Linked DNA regions of Homo sapiens: region 2 is linked to region 1. The links are contacts of gene promoters, found by promoter capture Hi-C in human tissues and cell types (Jung and others, 2019). All regions are on one chromosome and are shown on one strand. Each heading gives the region's core, a stretch centred on a gene start or on the middle of the fragment in contact. The rest is flanking DNA. Distances are from core to core; before and after follow the strand shown. Region 1 holds the start of SDCBP2 (syndecan binding protein 2). Region 2 has its middle 8.8 kb from the start of ZNF343.

Region 1 (6,651 bases), core at 2,777-5,276:
ACTTCTTTGTGGGTTTCTTAAAGAGAAATCTGTGACTCAGCTGCACTAGGGTAGGAGACTCCTAGAGGTTCAGAGCCAAGGCCTGGCCTTACCACTCTTGGGGTGTGTTGCCTTGGGCAAAGTGCTTCACTCTGAAGCTGGGAATTATGGTGAACAGATGAGATCAGTGTATGCCCAGTGCCCAGCAGAGCACCCAGTGTGCAGGAGCTCAATAAATGCTACGCTTCCTGTTATTATTTCAATTCAGCAGTAGGAACAAAGCTGTGATGACATAAGCCAGGGTCTTGCTGCACTACCCAGATTCCATGCAGAGGGCTGGAGTGTAGAGCAGCTCCTTCTCTGCCCAGCCGACATTCTCTCTTCTTCTGGGAAGAGCATCTCTATTTTCACTCCAATCAGATGACTGTTTCTGTGACATGTAGCCATGAGAAAGTAGGAAACTAACATTTACTAAATGCCAGCTGTGTCCTAGGTACTTCACATGGTTACCTCATTTAGTCTTCAGGATAAGTCTATAAAGAAGGTAGGTGTGGAAACTACAGCTCAGAGAGGTTTAGTAACATGTGCAACATCACAGAGCTGGGACTCAGATCGGATGCCCCAGCCCAACCCATCTTTTAAATAAGGGTCAGCCATTTAAGTTTCTAACTGTGATTGACTTTTCTAGGAGGGGCATTTATTCACTCAGTCAATATTTACTGAGGCCAGGTGTGGTGGCTCACGCCTGTAATCTCAGTACTTTGGGAGGCCAAGGTGGATACATCCCTTGAGCCCAGGAGTTCAAAACCAGCCTAGGCAACATGGCAAAACCCCATCTCTACAGAAAATACAAAAATTAACCAGCTGTGGTGGCATACGCCTGTGGTCCCAGCTATTCAGGAGGCTGAGGCAGGAGGATTGTGGGAGGCTGAGGCAGGAGGATCTTGGGAGGCTGAGGCAGGAGGATCGTAGGAGGCTGAGACAGGAGGATCACTTGAGCCTGGCAGACAGAGCAAGACCATATCTCAAAAAAAAAAAAAAAATTTACTGTGAGCCTGCTATGTGCCAGGCATAGTACTAGGCCTCAGGGTTAAGACAAGCCCCTGCCATCATGGAGCACCCATTCCAGATGGCATGGAGACTTCACCTCATGAGCCAACTCTAGGTGACGGTAGCTGCCTGCAGCATTATGACGAGAGGATCCGGAGAGGCCTCTGGGCCCAGCAGGAAGGACATTAGTGGTTGATTACTCAGGGTGCCATGGGTGCTACCAGGGAGTTTCTGAGTGTGTGCTGTTTACTGGCCACCCAAAGTTTTAGACTTGTTCATACAAATATATAACAAAGCAGAAATATTGTCTGGTCAGAGCACAGTTCCACTCCTTATTTTGAAAAGAGTAACTGGCTGGGTGTGGGGTCTCACACCTGTAATCCCAGCACTTTGGGAGGCTCAGGCAGGCAGACTGCTTGAGCCCAGGAGTTTGAGACCAGTCTGGGCAACATGGCAAAACCCTGTCTCTACAGAAAATAAAAAAATTAGCCAGGTGTGGCAGTGTGAACCTGTCGTCCCAGCTAATAGGGAGGCTGAGGTGGAAGAATCCTTTGAGCCTGGGAGGTGGAGGCTGCAGTGAACCATGATTGCACCACAGCACTATGGCCTGGGTGACAGAGCGAAATGCTGTCTCAAAAGAATGACCACTGTAGAGCTAATAACTTGGCCCTGCCCTCAGGGAACTTAGGGTCTAACTAGTAGCCTAAAAGGTACACATGAGTACAAGATGATGATTATTAAAGAATGGAACAGGAGCGTCTGATCCAGAGTCAGAGGCGGGAGAGGCCACATGGATGTGGGGGATCCCAGAGGCTTCCTGGAGGAGCTCAGTGGTGGATGTGGCTAGGTGGGTGGGGGCAGGAGAAGGTGTTCCAGGGGCAGCAGCAGGACAGGCAAAGGTATGGAGTCAGGGCAGGTAGGAAGTGGGTGTGCAGTGGGGCAGGAATGGTGGGGCTCCCAGTCCAGCTGAGGCAGAGGTGCTGGGGGAGTGCTGAGGAGGTAATAAAGGGAGTGGGCTGTGGAGGTCTCCATGTCAGCCCTGGGAGTTTAGCCCAGACCCTGAAGCAGGAGGGAGCCACTGAAGAGTTCGAGCAAGGGCATGCCCAATGAAAGATATTTCCAGGTGGCTGGAAGTCAGTGATGGGTGGCAACTATCCAAAGAGGGAATAGAAAGAGAGTCCCTGTAGGTATTAAATAGGTGGGAGTTAGGGGACCTGGGCTCCATGCTGACATGCTGGGACCACAGGCAAGCCCCTTACCTGGAAGGGCCTGCTTCCTCCTCCCTCTTCTATAAAGGCCCTTTCAGGTCATGACTGAATGAAGTGAGGTGGGGGAGGAGTGGCTTGGTTTAGTTAGGATCTCTATTTTCCACTTTGCTTTGGCCTTGGACACCTGACCTAAGGTGGGTCCATCACCCACGTTACCTCAGCTTCAGGCCCACACAGCTTACTCTGAGGTTGCCCCACACCTCAGCTTTCTGAAACAGTATGTCCCATAGAAGAGAAGACATGAACTTGGCCCACTTTCCAGCTAACTTGAGAGAGAAACTTTGCCTCTGTGCCTCAGTGTCCCCACCTGGAGGAATGGTGTGAGTCACACCTACTCTGCAGGGATGGCATGAGAAGCCATTGAGATAATGCCTTTAAAGTGCCAGGGGTAGAATCTCTGTGCTCTCTGGGAGTAAGTGCTGAATTAGTGGCAAATGTCTTTCTTGTTATTATTCCTATTGTGTGTTTCCTGTGTGGGACTCTGGGCTGTAAGCTCTTCATTGGCAGGCACAAGATCTGACACCCAAGGCTAGTGCAACTCTGCCAGGTGGGTCATGGGAACTGTGACGTAGGCCTGCCTGGCCCAGGAAGCAGCCCAGATACTGACACACCCTGAGTGTGTACAGCGTCAATCCTCATGGGACTGCCCAGCACACGAGTCCCTCGTCCCTCCCCAGGCACCCAGTGCGACAGGCACCCTCACCCAACCAAACCCACCAGGATCTAAACTAAATTCTTCCTCCTTTTCTGTTCAAATTTATATAATTATTTTTGGAATAAGTAGTACATTTAAACTTTTCAAAATTTAAGACACCAAAAATGTGCCATAAAAAAAAAAATCTCCACCTCAGCACACAGCTCCTTAGGTCTGCTCCCAAGAGACAACCACTCTAAATTCCCATTAAAATAATCAAACTTAATTGCTTCCCCCTTACAAAAGTCATGAGCATTCAGAGCAAAAGCTAACTTAAAAAAAAAAAAACCACCTTGGAACACACAAAAGTACAAACTGAAAACCTCACCCTCAATGCTGCCATTCAGAGATACTCAGCATTTTAGCGTATGTCCTCCTAGACTGCTTTCAACGCACATCCACTTTACAAAAAATGAAAACAAAATGCAAGAAGAGATTCACAATATTGATTTTTCAACATCTCACTAGAATCTCAGAAATGTTTCCTCATACCTTCTTCCTTAAGTGACTTTAATAGCTCTGTGATCTTCCACAGACAATGATTTATTCAAGCAGACCACAGAGATGGGCATTTGGGATTTCTACATTTTCCTTACTAGAAGCAGCAGTGATGGATGGGCCCTGTGACTCCACTGTAACAAATTCCTAGAAGAAATGCTGGGTCACAGGATATGACCACTTTTTAATATCCTGGCCTAGACCCCTAGATACCTATCACAAACCGCCCTCTAGCCAACTGCCTCGATCAGCAGGACTAGGTGTCCAACCCAAATTTAGAGCTATTTAAGAAAAGGCCAAGAAGTCTTGGTTCATAACCGTCTGAACAGCAGCTGTGAGGGCCTTAATCCCACCTCCAAATCCAGACTAAGGCCAAAGGCCTCCTCTGGGCTGGCAACCTGCCTTGTTTACCCAGCCACAGCCCTCACCTGTGCCCATCCCAGTCCAAGGTGAGTCAGCTGAACAGGGGACAGGCACCACCCTTCCCAGATCAGGAAGCCAGCTGAGAGACAGGGCTACGTTTCAGGGAGGGAAACAGATTCAGCAGCGGCAGCAGCTGGAGAAGGTCGTGGAGCAGCACCTTGCCTGCAGGTAAGCGCTGGGGGCCCTGACCCAATCCTGGCTGGGATTGGGATGAGTGAGACCTGCTCTCACCCTGTCCCCTTCCCTCCCTGCCCCTTCCCTTCTGGGACTTCCCAGGCAGCTTCCTTTCGAAGTGCTTCACTCCAAGCAGTCAAGTGTGAAGTGGGGTTTCTTCTTCTGATCCCAGCCCTGGACCAAGTTTGATTAAGGGCTGAGTGATTTTCTTCACCCAGACATCATGAGGGCCCCCGATGCCTTCTGACTGCCCATGACTGTGCTCAAGGAGATGAGATCCACACTTTGCTCCTTGAAAGGCCAATTCCAGCCGAAACCAGAGGCTGCAGGCAGGCAAAAAGCCCATTTCTCCCAAGGAATCCACAGCTCAGGCCGACTTCTCTGGCCTGAGGCTGTTTCTATCAAAAAACCTTCCTGCCACAGCACTGAAACACCTGCTGGGGAACTGCGCCAGGGGCTTCACCTTTCTAAGAACTGGTTTCTTCATCTGGAGACTGAAAATAGCCCACAAAGTCAGGAGAATGGAAGGACATACTGGACACAGGAGCCAGTGCATGCCCTCCTCAGCAGGGTCTCAGAAAATGGGGCAGAAAACGAGCCTGGTATGGGCTGGGCGAGCACTGGACAGGCAGCTTCACGTACAGTGGCCCAAGCTCATGACAATTCCACCACCATCACTTCCCACCTGGGCTCCTGCTCCCACTCCTGCCCTGTAGCCCATCCTCCAAACATCAGCCAGAGGAGGCCTGTCAAAATAACCCTTGGACCTTGGCACTCTGCTGCTACAAATCCCCCAGTGGCTCCCATCTCACTACAGTAAATGCCAAAGTCCTCACCATGACCTCCAGGCCCTCCAGGATCTGGCCCCTCTCACTTCTCCAGCTTCCTCCCCACTACTCCTCCTTACTCCCTCTCTGCACAACTGGCTTCTCACTGGCAGATGTCCTCTAAACACAACACCAACTCCCACCTGAGAGGCTCTGCAATGGCCGTGCCCACCCCATTAGGCCTTTCCTCAAATGTCACCCCACCCAGCCAGCAAGGCTTCTGAACCTCCTGACATGACCCTCCGTCCTGCTCTTTCTCTCCAGTGCCTCCCACCATCTAACACAGCACACAGAGTCACAAAGCCTATTTATCCAGCTCTTCCCCCAAAGAAAGTACATTTGGGGACCAAGTCTTCTTTCCTTCACTGCTGATACCTAGAACAGTACTCAGACTTAGCAGGTGCTGAGTAAGTAAGCGCTGAAACAATGAATAAACAGCTAACTTTTACTGAATGCCTATTATGTGCTAGGTGCTGTGCTAAATGCTTTCCATATACACCTTAACTCTTTTTAAAAATCTTTCAGTCTCCAGACAACTGTGATGCAACTATTGTTATCCAGATTACAAAGGAAGAAATGACATTCAAAGGGGATTTGCCTATGCTGTGCTCTCACAAGTCAGAAGCAGTCAGTCTGAACCCTGCCCTGCCTGGGCCTGGGTTCAGGCGTGTCTGCTTGAGGAAGTCACAGCTTTTCCCCAGCAGGCAGTGCAGCACTGAGAGGAGGAGTGGGGGTACATGCTGGTGGCCTAGCAACAGCTTCTTCTATTCCGACTCACCACATCCCTGGGCTAATTTGGCCTTCCAGGAGCTATTCCTCTGACACTCTAACCCACGCTTCCCTCCCGCGCACTGTCTTGTAAAGGACGGATGAGCTGTCCACAGGAACGAGTGGGAGTTCCATCACTTCAGCTCTTTGGAACAAAGTGTTCCAAAGAGTGTTCTCACTCTAAGTTCAAAGATGGGGGCTGAAGTCCCCTTGTCAGCCCTGCTGATCTCCGAAGCCCAGCTATTGGTTTGTTGTGGGTGTTGTTATTGCTTATATCAAAAAGTACAGAAGCTCAGGGATGGAAATCTGGAAAGGGCTGTGGGAGAGGAAAATTCCTCTGAGAGAGAGGGGTTAGGTGGGTTCTTTTCCTTTCGGAGGAACCAATTACTTGTGGGAAGCCATCAGCACAGAACTGAGCAAACTTCCACTGTCAGATTATAGGAGCCAGGCAGCCTTTCAACCTAACTCGTTAGGGCCATGGTTTCTCTCCTTTTCCAGGCCCAGGTTATTCTTCGAAAGACTTTCTACTTATTGACTGCAAACACAGACAGGCATGGGAAGAAAGACTGTATATTTAGGATATCAGGCTTTCTCTTCTCTCTGTGCCTGCTTTTCCACTCCTTTCAGAAATAGTAATGGGATGCCTGTTGTGTGCCAGGCACTGTGCTCAGCACTGGGGGTTAACAAATGAGTGACATTTCCTGACCAGTGAGGGAGATGAGCAAACAAACACAGCACAGTGGAAATCCAACCTAGGAAATGCAGAAGGCCTTGCTCATAGTAGGTGATTAACAAACACTTGTGGAATATATGATGAAGAGGCAAATACAAGAAATGCTGTCGTCTAGAGAAGGGAGGCTTGCCAATCTCCATGCGTACAGGTGGGGGAAAGCTTTAAATTGGAGGAAAAAGAGTTCACAACAAGGAAAAGAGAGAAGGCATGAATGACTCTTAAGACAGAGGGAATAGC
Region 2 (6,202 bases), core at 2,251-4,750, 1.2 Mb before region 1:
ACCACTTTTCGGCGTAGAAGACGAGTCCCCATGTTCACAAGTGCTTTACAGGGGGTGCCTGCCCAAGTTTCTGGGACCAGAGCTGACCAATGATCTTCCCAGACCCATTTCCCACTGATTCTCCTCTTTAAGATGAGTTAGAGCATATCTAGTAAAATAAAATAAAATAAAATAAGCAGTATATTAATGAACAAGCTCAGAATCAGACATTGTTCTGAAAAGCGATTGTAGGCTCTTAGGAATAATTAAAATGTAGCTAGGCATAGGTAGCACATATTTTAATTTAAAAAATTATTTCTTTTTAATAGAGACGGGGTCTTGCCATGTTGTCCAGGCTGATCTCTAACCTCTGGGCTCAAGAGATCCTCCCACCTTGGCCTCCTAAAGTGCTGGGATTATAGATGTGAGGTACCACGCCTGGCTAGTAGCACATAAATTAGGTGATATAAAGGAAGTCAAGTTCAAAATCACTCATCCATTATAAATGAAATTTATACATTTAATAAATGATATATAAACTTCATAGTATATACAAACTAGCTCATAAAGTGCATGTAGAATACAAACATAGAATCTTAAAGTGCATTAAATTAAGGTGAATCTAAGCAGTATTAGTGAAACTTAGCTCAGAAGCAGTCATTATCCTCCAAAGTACTCTATTATGTTGAATTAGTAGAAATATAGATTAAACTATGTACAACCAAGCAGTAAACAAGCTAAGAAACAGACTCTCCCCTCTTAATAAGTGTGAAATGGTCAGATAGAGCAGATAAAAATAACTTAGAGCCAAATTACATGAATCTAAGCAGTATTAGAGAAAATAATCTTACAATCACACCTTGTTCTCTAAATTTCCTTATTTTTTTGTGACTTACAACAAATTAGGATGAACCTAGGCAATTTAAATCAGAGTCATCTCCCTATGGTGAATTCAATTAAATATATGTGAAACTAAACAGAACAGTTGAAAACAGGCAGGAAATCACACTTTCAACTAAGGTTCAGGTCCAGGTTCAGGAACATCTCAAATGAAATGTCCATTGTGTGTTAGAGCATATTTAGATGAAACCAAGCTGTTTATGTCAAATGAGTTCAGAATCTATCATTTTTCCTGAATGAGTCAGGGTTCTCCAGAGAAACAGAACCAATAGAATGTGTATGTATATGCGTATACACACACATGCACACACACATATGGAGATTTAGTATAAGGAATTGCTTCACACAATTATGGAGGCTGGCAGGCTGGAGCCCCAGGGGAGCCAATGGTGCAGTTCCAGTCTAAAGGCAGTCTGCTGAAGAATTTCCTCTTGTTCAAGGAGGCTGGTCTTTTTGTTCTATTCAGTGAGGTGAGGCAAATCTGAAGGCGAAGTCCAGAGTCAGTGTGAGTGTGAAGGTCAGGTTCATGGTTAGGACCAGAGTGAGTGTGAGAGTGAGCTGGAGGTACAGGGTCAGAGGGAGAGTCAGTGTCACAGTCAGGATTAGGGTGTCAGTGTCAGAATCATTATGAGAGCGTAGTAAAGGAGTCTGTGGCAGGGTGTGGGTAGTGAGTTGGTATGTAATGTGGGGTAGGTCACGGGGTATTTGAGGGAGTAAGTAGAGAATGAGTATGGGTCAGAAAGTAGTGAATGGGTGGATTAGTCCATTTTCACACTACTATAAAGAACTACCCAAGACTGGGTAATTTAAAAAGGAAAGAGGTTTAATTGACTCACAGTTGCACATGGCTGGGTAGGCCTCAGGAAACTTACAATCATGGTGGAAGGTGAAGGGGAAGCAAGGCATGTCTTACACGATGGCAGGAAAGAGAGAGGGGGGCAGGGAACTGCCAAACACTTTTAAACCATCAGATCTTGTGAGAACTCACTATCATGAGGACAGCATGGATGAAACCACCCCCATGAGCCAATCGCCTTCCACCAGGTCCCTCCCCTGACATGTGGGGATTACAATTCGAGATGAGATTTGGGTAGGAACACAGAGCCAAACCATTATCAGTGGGTGTGGGCTGCAAGGGTAGGCACTGAATGGTTTACAGGGGAGAGGTAGGTGGTGTGTGGGTGATTGTCAGAGCATAGGTATTGAGTGGATGTGAAGCAAGTGGTGTAGGGAAGTGGACACGGGGCTGAGAGCATGTGGTATGTTGGAAGGTAGTGTCTGTAAGGGAGGGTTGTAGGTTGTGAGTGAGTGTGGAACCGGAGGGGTAGCTATTTAGAAATCAGAAGTTAGAGTCTGGCACTTGTGAGTACTATTGTGTATTTTGGAGTACTTTGGAGTACAAAAGATTATTTGACAACAGTTAGTGATTCTATGTTGGCTTCAGAATTCTAGATTCTACTTAATTTGCTCTAACTGGCAATAAGAAGGATCTTTTAAGAGCAATGTGACAATGAGCTCATTTACACGAATACTGCTTTTGATTCATTATAATTCTCCCAAATAGAAATAAATCTTTGAGGCTGGGCGCGGTGGCTCACGCCTGTAATTCTAACACTCTGGGAGGCCAAGGTCGGCAAACTGTCTGAGTTCAGGAGTTCAAGACAAGCCTGGTCAACATGGCGAAACTACGTCTCTACTAAAAAAATACAAAAAGGTAGCCAGACGTGGTGGCACGCGCCTGTAATCCCAGCTACTCAGAAAGCTGAGGAAGGGGAATCACTTGAGCCTGGGAGGCAGAGGTTACAGTGAGCCGAGATCGAGCCACTGCACTCCAGCCTGGGTAACAGAGTGAGACTCTGTCTCGAAAAAAAAAAAGAGAGAAAAAAGGAAAAAAAAATAAACCTTTGAGTACTTTTAAAATTTTATTAAGGACAATATGTGATTTTGAGATGTCTTTCACATATAATGTTTCCATTTGTCTTAGCTCTAAGTACAGTTTTGATGACGGTGTGTTTCTCATCTTTTATTATTATTATTATTAAAGCTTACTTTCATGTCAATTTATTCTAATAAGCAATAACAAATTGAGGCCAAGGGCAACGGCTCACTCCTTTAATCCCAGCACTTTGGGAGGCTGAGGTGAGAGGATCACTTGAGGCCAGGAGTTCAAGACCAGCCTGGGTGACAGAGGGGGACCCCATCTCTACAAAAAAAAAAAATTAATAACTAGCCAGGCATGGTGGTGTGTGCCTGTAGTCCCAGTTACTTGGAAGGCTGAGGTGGGAGGACTGCTTGAGCCCAGGAGGTCGAGGCTGCAGTGAGCCATGATGATGCCACTGCACTCTAGCCTGGGTGACAGAGTGCAGAGTAAGACCCTATCTCAAAAAAGAAAAAAAAAAAAGACCAGAGGGAATTCTTCAGCAGGCTGCCCCTTTGGACTGGAACTGCACCATCGGCTCTCCTGGTATATGTATATGTGTGTATATATATACATATACATCAGCTATATATGTGTGTATATATATATACACACATATACATTGGCTGAATGTGTATATATGTGTGTGTATATTTGTATATATACCTGTGTGTGTGTATACATATACATATACAAATACATAAACACATACAAATTCTGTTGCTTCTATTTCTCTGGAGCACTCAGTCTCATTCAGGAAGAATGATAGATTCTGAGCTCGTTTGACATAAACAGCTTGGTTTCATTTAAATATGCTCTAATGCACAATGAAACATATCATTTGAAATATTCCCAAACCTGGACTTGAACCTTAGTTGGAAGCATGGTTTGCTGTTTTCAAGTATTCTGCTTACTTTCATATACATCTGATTGAATTCACCATAGTGAGTTACCTTAGATATGAATGTATGATTCTGACTTAAATTGACTAGGTTCATCCAGATTTGTTGTAAGTCACAAAAAGTAATGACCGTGACAGTGACACTAATCATGAAGGACATCCTCAATGTCAACTCACTCTCATCTTCTCCTTGACCCTGAACCTCACGCCCACCTTTACCCTAACACTTTCTGGCCTTGAGCCTGACCTTTATCCTCAACCTGACCCTCAATGTGATCATAACCCTTATCCCAACCCTTGCCTTAAACCTGACCTAAGCCTCATACACTGGACCTGAATTGCACTTGACTCTCTCTTTCTCAATCTCCCTTTCATCCTCAGCTAGACCTCACTCTCCCTCACTCTCACCTTCACCCTGACCCTCAGTTTCATCTTGACACTTGCCCTTGACGCTAAACCAGACCCTCATCATCACTGTTGTCCTGACCCTACCCTGCTCACTCATCCTCACTCTGAGTTTATTCCTCAGATGGACTCTTACTTTGACACTGACCTTGATCTCACTCTCATGCCCACGCTCACACTCACTGTGCACTTGCTCTCACTCTGACTTTAATCCTCACTGGGACCTACTCTGATCCTAAATCAAACACTAACCCTCACCCTCAGCCTGACATTAACAGTGACTCTGACCCTCACAGCATCACTCTGGCCCCACCTTTACCCTAAATCACAATCCCCTCCCTTTTTGAAGACAGGGTCTCGCTCCATTGCCCAGGCTGGCCTCTAATTGTTGGACTCAAGCAATCCTCAGCCTCCTGAGTAGTTGGGATTACAGGCATGCACCAGGACATTTGGCTTCTAAATCACATCCTTAACATCTCTGTGACCCCGACTCTCATCCTCACCTTGATTCCGACCTGAACCAAACACTCAGCCTGCTCTCTCCCAAACCCCAACCTTGATCATCACCCTAATTCTCAACCTCACCCTCACCCTAGCCCCCATTCTCACTTCATCACCTCAATCTGACCATCACTCTCACTTTCAATCTGGCCCTGACATTCACCCTCACATTCACCCCTTTCTGACTCTGACCTTGACCCTCAATCTCACTCTGAGTCTGACTCCCCTCCTCCTTTCACAGCCGCTGACCCTGACACTCATCCTTACTCCAATCCTCCTGATGATGCAGATACGGATCATCGCCCTGACTGTGTGACGCTCACTCTGGTACCATCACCTGAGCCTGTCTCTCACTCTCATGTTGAACCTCGAAGTCTAAGGTTGAAGTTCATGCCCAAGATCAAAGTCAAGGGTAAGGGTTAAGCAAAGACCCTCAACCATACATTTCTGTTAACTACAGCTTATTTCTTGTTCATATAACTAGTAAGAACTACTGACAAGTAGAGATAACAAGATAACCCATACTAACTAGGTAACTAGACATAATTAGAATAACTACAGTATGTAAAAGAGAAGCTCCAGGACATACATGTGTCTCAAGTTATCACTAGTTATCTATTTAGCAGTAGTAGTTCAAAAAAGAAGTTAGAGTTGGAGTACTTTTGAATGCTTTTGGAATATTTTTTGGAATATTTTTTAAGATTCTTTGGAGAACAATTCTGAGCTGATTTCACAAATCCTGCTGAGTCATTGTAATTCCTCCATATAACAATACATATTTTGAATGCTTCTGACTACATTTGTAAATTTATTAAGAACAATATGGGATTCTTAATGTGGTAATATATTGAGGCTAAAAAAGAAAAAAACCAATATGGGATTCAGAACTCATTTTCACAAATATCATAAATAGCTCTGACAAATAATAAGACGAAGGTGTCTTTATCACCTGGTTTGTTTAAAGTTTACATTAATATCAATGTATTCTAATCAGCAGTAAATCTAGTAAAATGTCTGAACTTGTGTTTACTAACACTGCAGTATTAGTCTTTTTTTCCTTTCTTTTTCTGATTTGGCTTCTTCTTCTCTTTCTTCTTCTTCCTTCTCCTTCCTTCCTTCTTCTCCTTCCTTCCTTCTTCTTTCTTCTTCTTCTTCTTTTTTTTTTTTGATACAATGTCTCGCTCTGTCACCCAGGCTGGAGTGCAGTGCAGTGGTGCAATCTCAGCTCACTTGGCTCACTGCAACCTCCGCCTCCTGAGTTCAAGCAATTCTCGTGCCTCAGCCTCTTGAGTAGCTGGGACTATGGGTGCATGCCACCAAATTTGGCTAAATTTTTGTATTAATATTCTTAGTAGAGATGGGGTTTCGCCATATTAGCCAGGCTGGTCTTCAACTCCTGGCTTCAAGTGATCTGCCTGCCTTGGCCTCCCAAAGTGCTGGAACTACAGACGTGAGCCACCATGCCTGGCCTGCTTTGGCTTCTAATTCATTAAACACACAGTATTAGTCTTACAAAAATTTTTTAAAAGATATATATAATATTGAGCTTTAAATTAGACTGCTTATTTTTACAAATACTGACTGGATTCATCTTACTT

What was found. The method cuts DNA at HindIII sites, captures the fragments that hold promoters and counts their contacts. A contact is called where the count stands out against the background at its distance.
Region 2: a fragment that was not itself captured here is called in contact with the fragment with the promoter of SDCBP2 in region 1 in 1 of the 25 tissues and cell types used here (hippocampus).

Annotation. Positions count from the first base shown.
Region 1 is chr20:1,326,514-1,333,164 of GRCh38, reverse strand. SDCBP2 (syndecan binding protein 2) reads left to right here and starts at 4,026. Exons shown (of 9, transcript NM_080489.5): 1 at 4,026-4,080. The region is part of intron 2 of FKBP1A-SDCBP2 (FKBP1A-SDCBP2 readthrough (NMD candidate)); the gene reads left to right. The region is part of intron 1 of SDCBP2-AS1 (SDCBP2 antisense RNA 1); the gene reads right to left. The HindIII fragment of the contact is 26,056 bases long and covers 1-6,651 here.
Region 2 is chr20:2,514,572-2,520,773 of GRCh38, reverse strand. It overlaps a transcript of ZNF343 not described here. Among named protein-coding and RNA genes, the nearest start is that of ZNF343, 8.8 kb to the right of the region's middle. The HindIII fragment of the contact is 4,270 bases long and covers 1,366-5,635 here.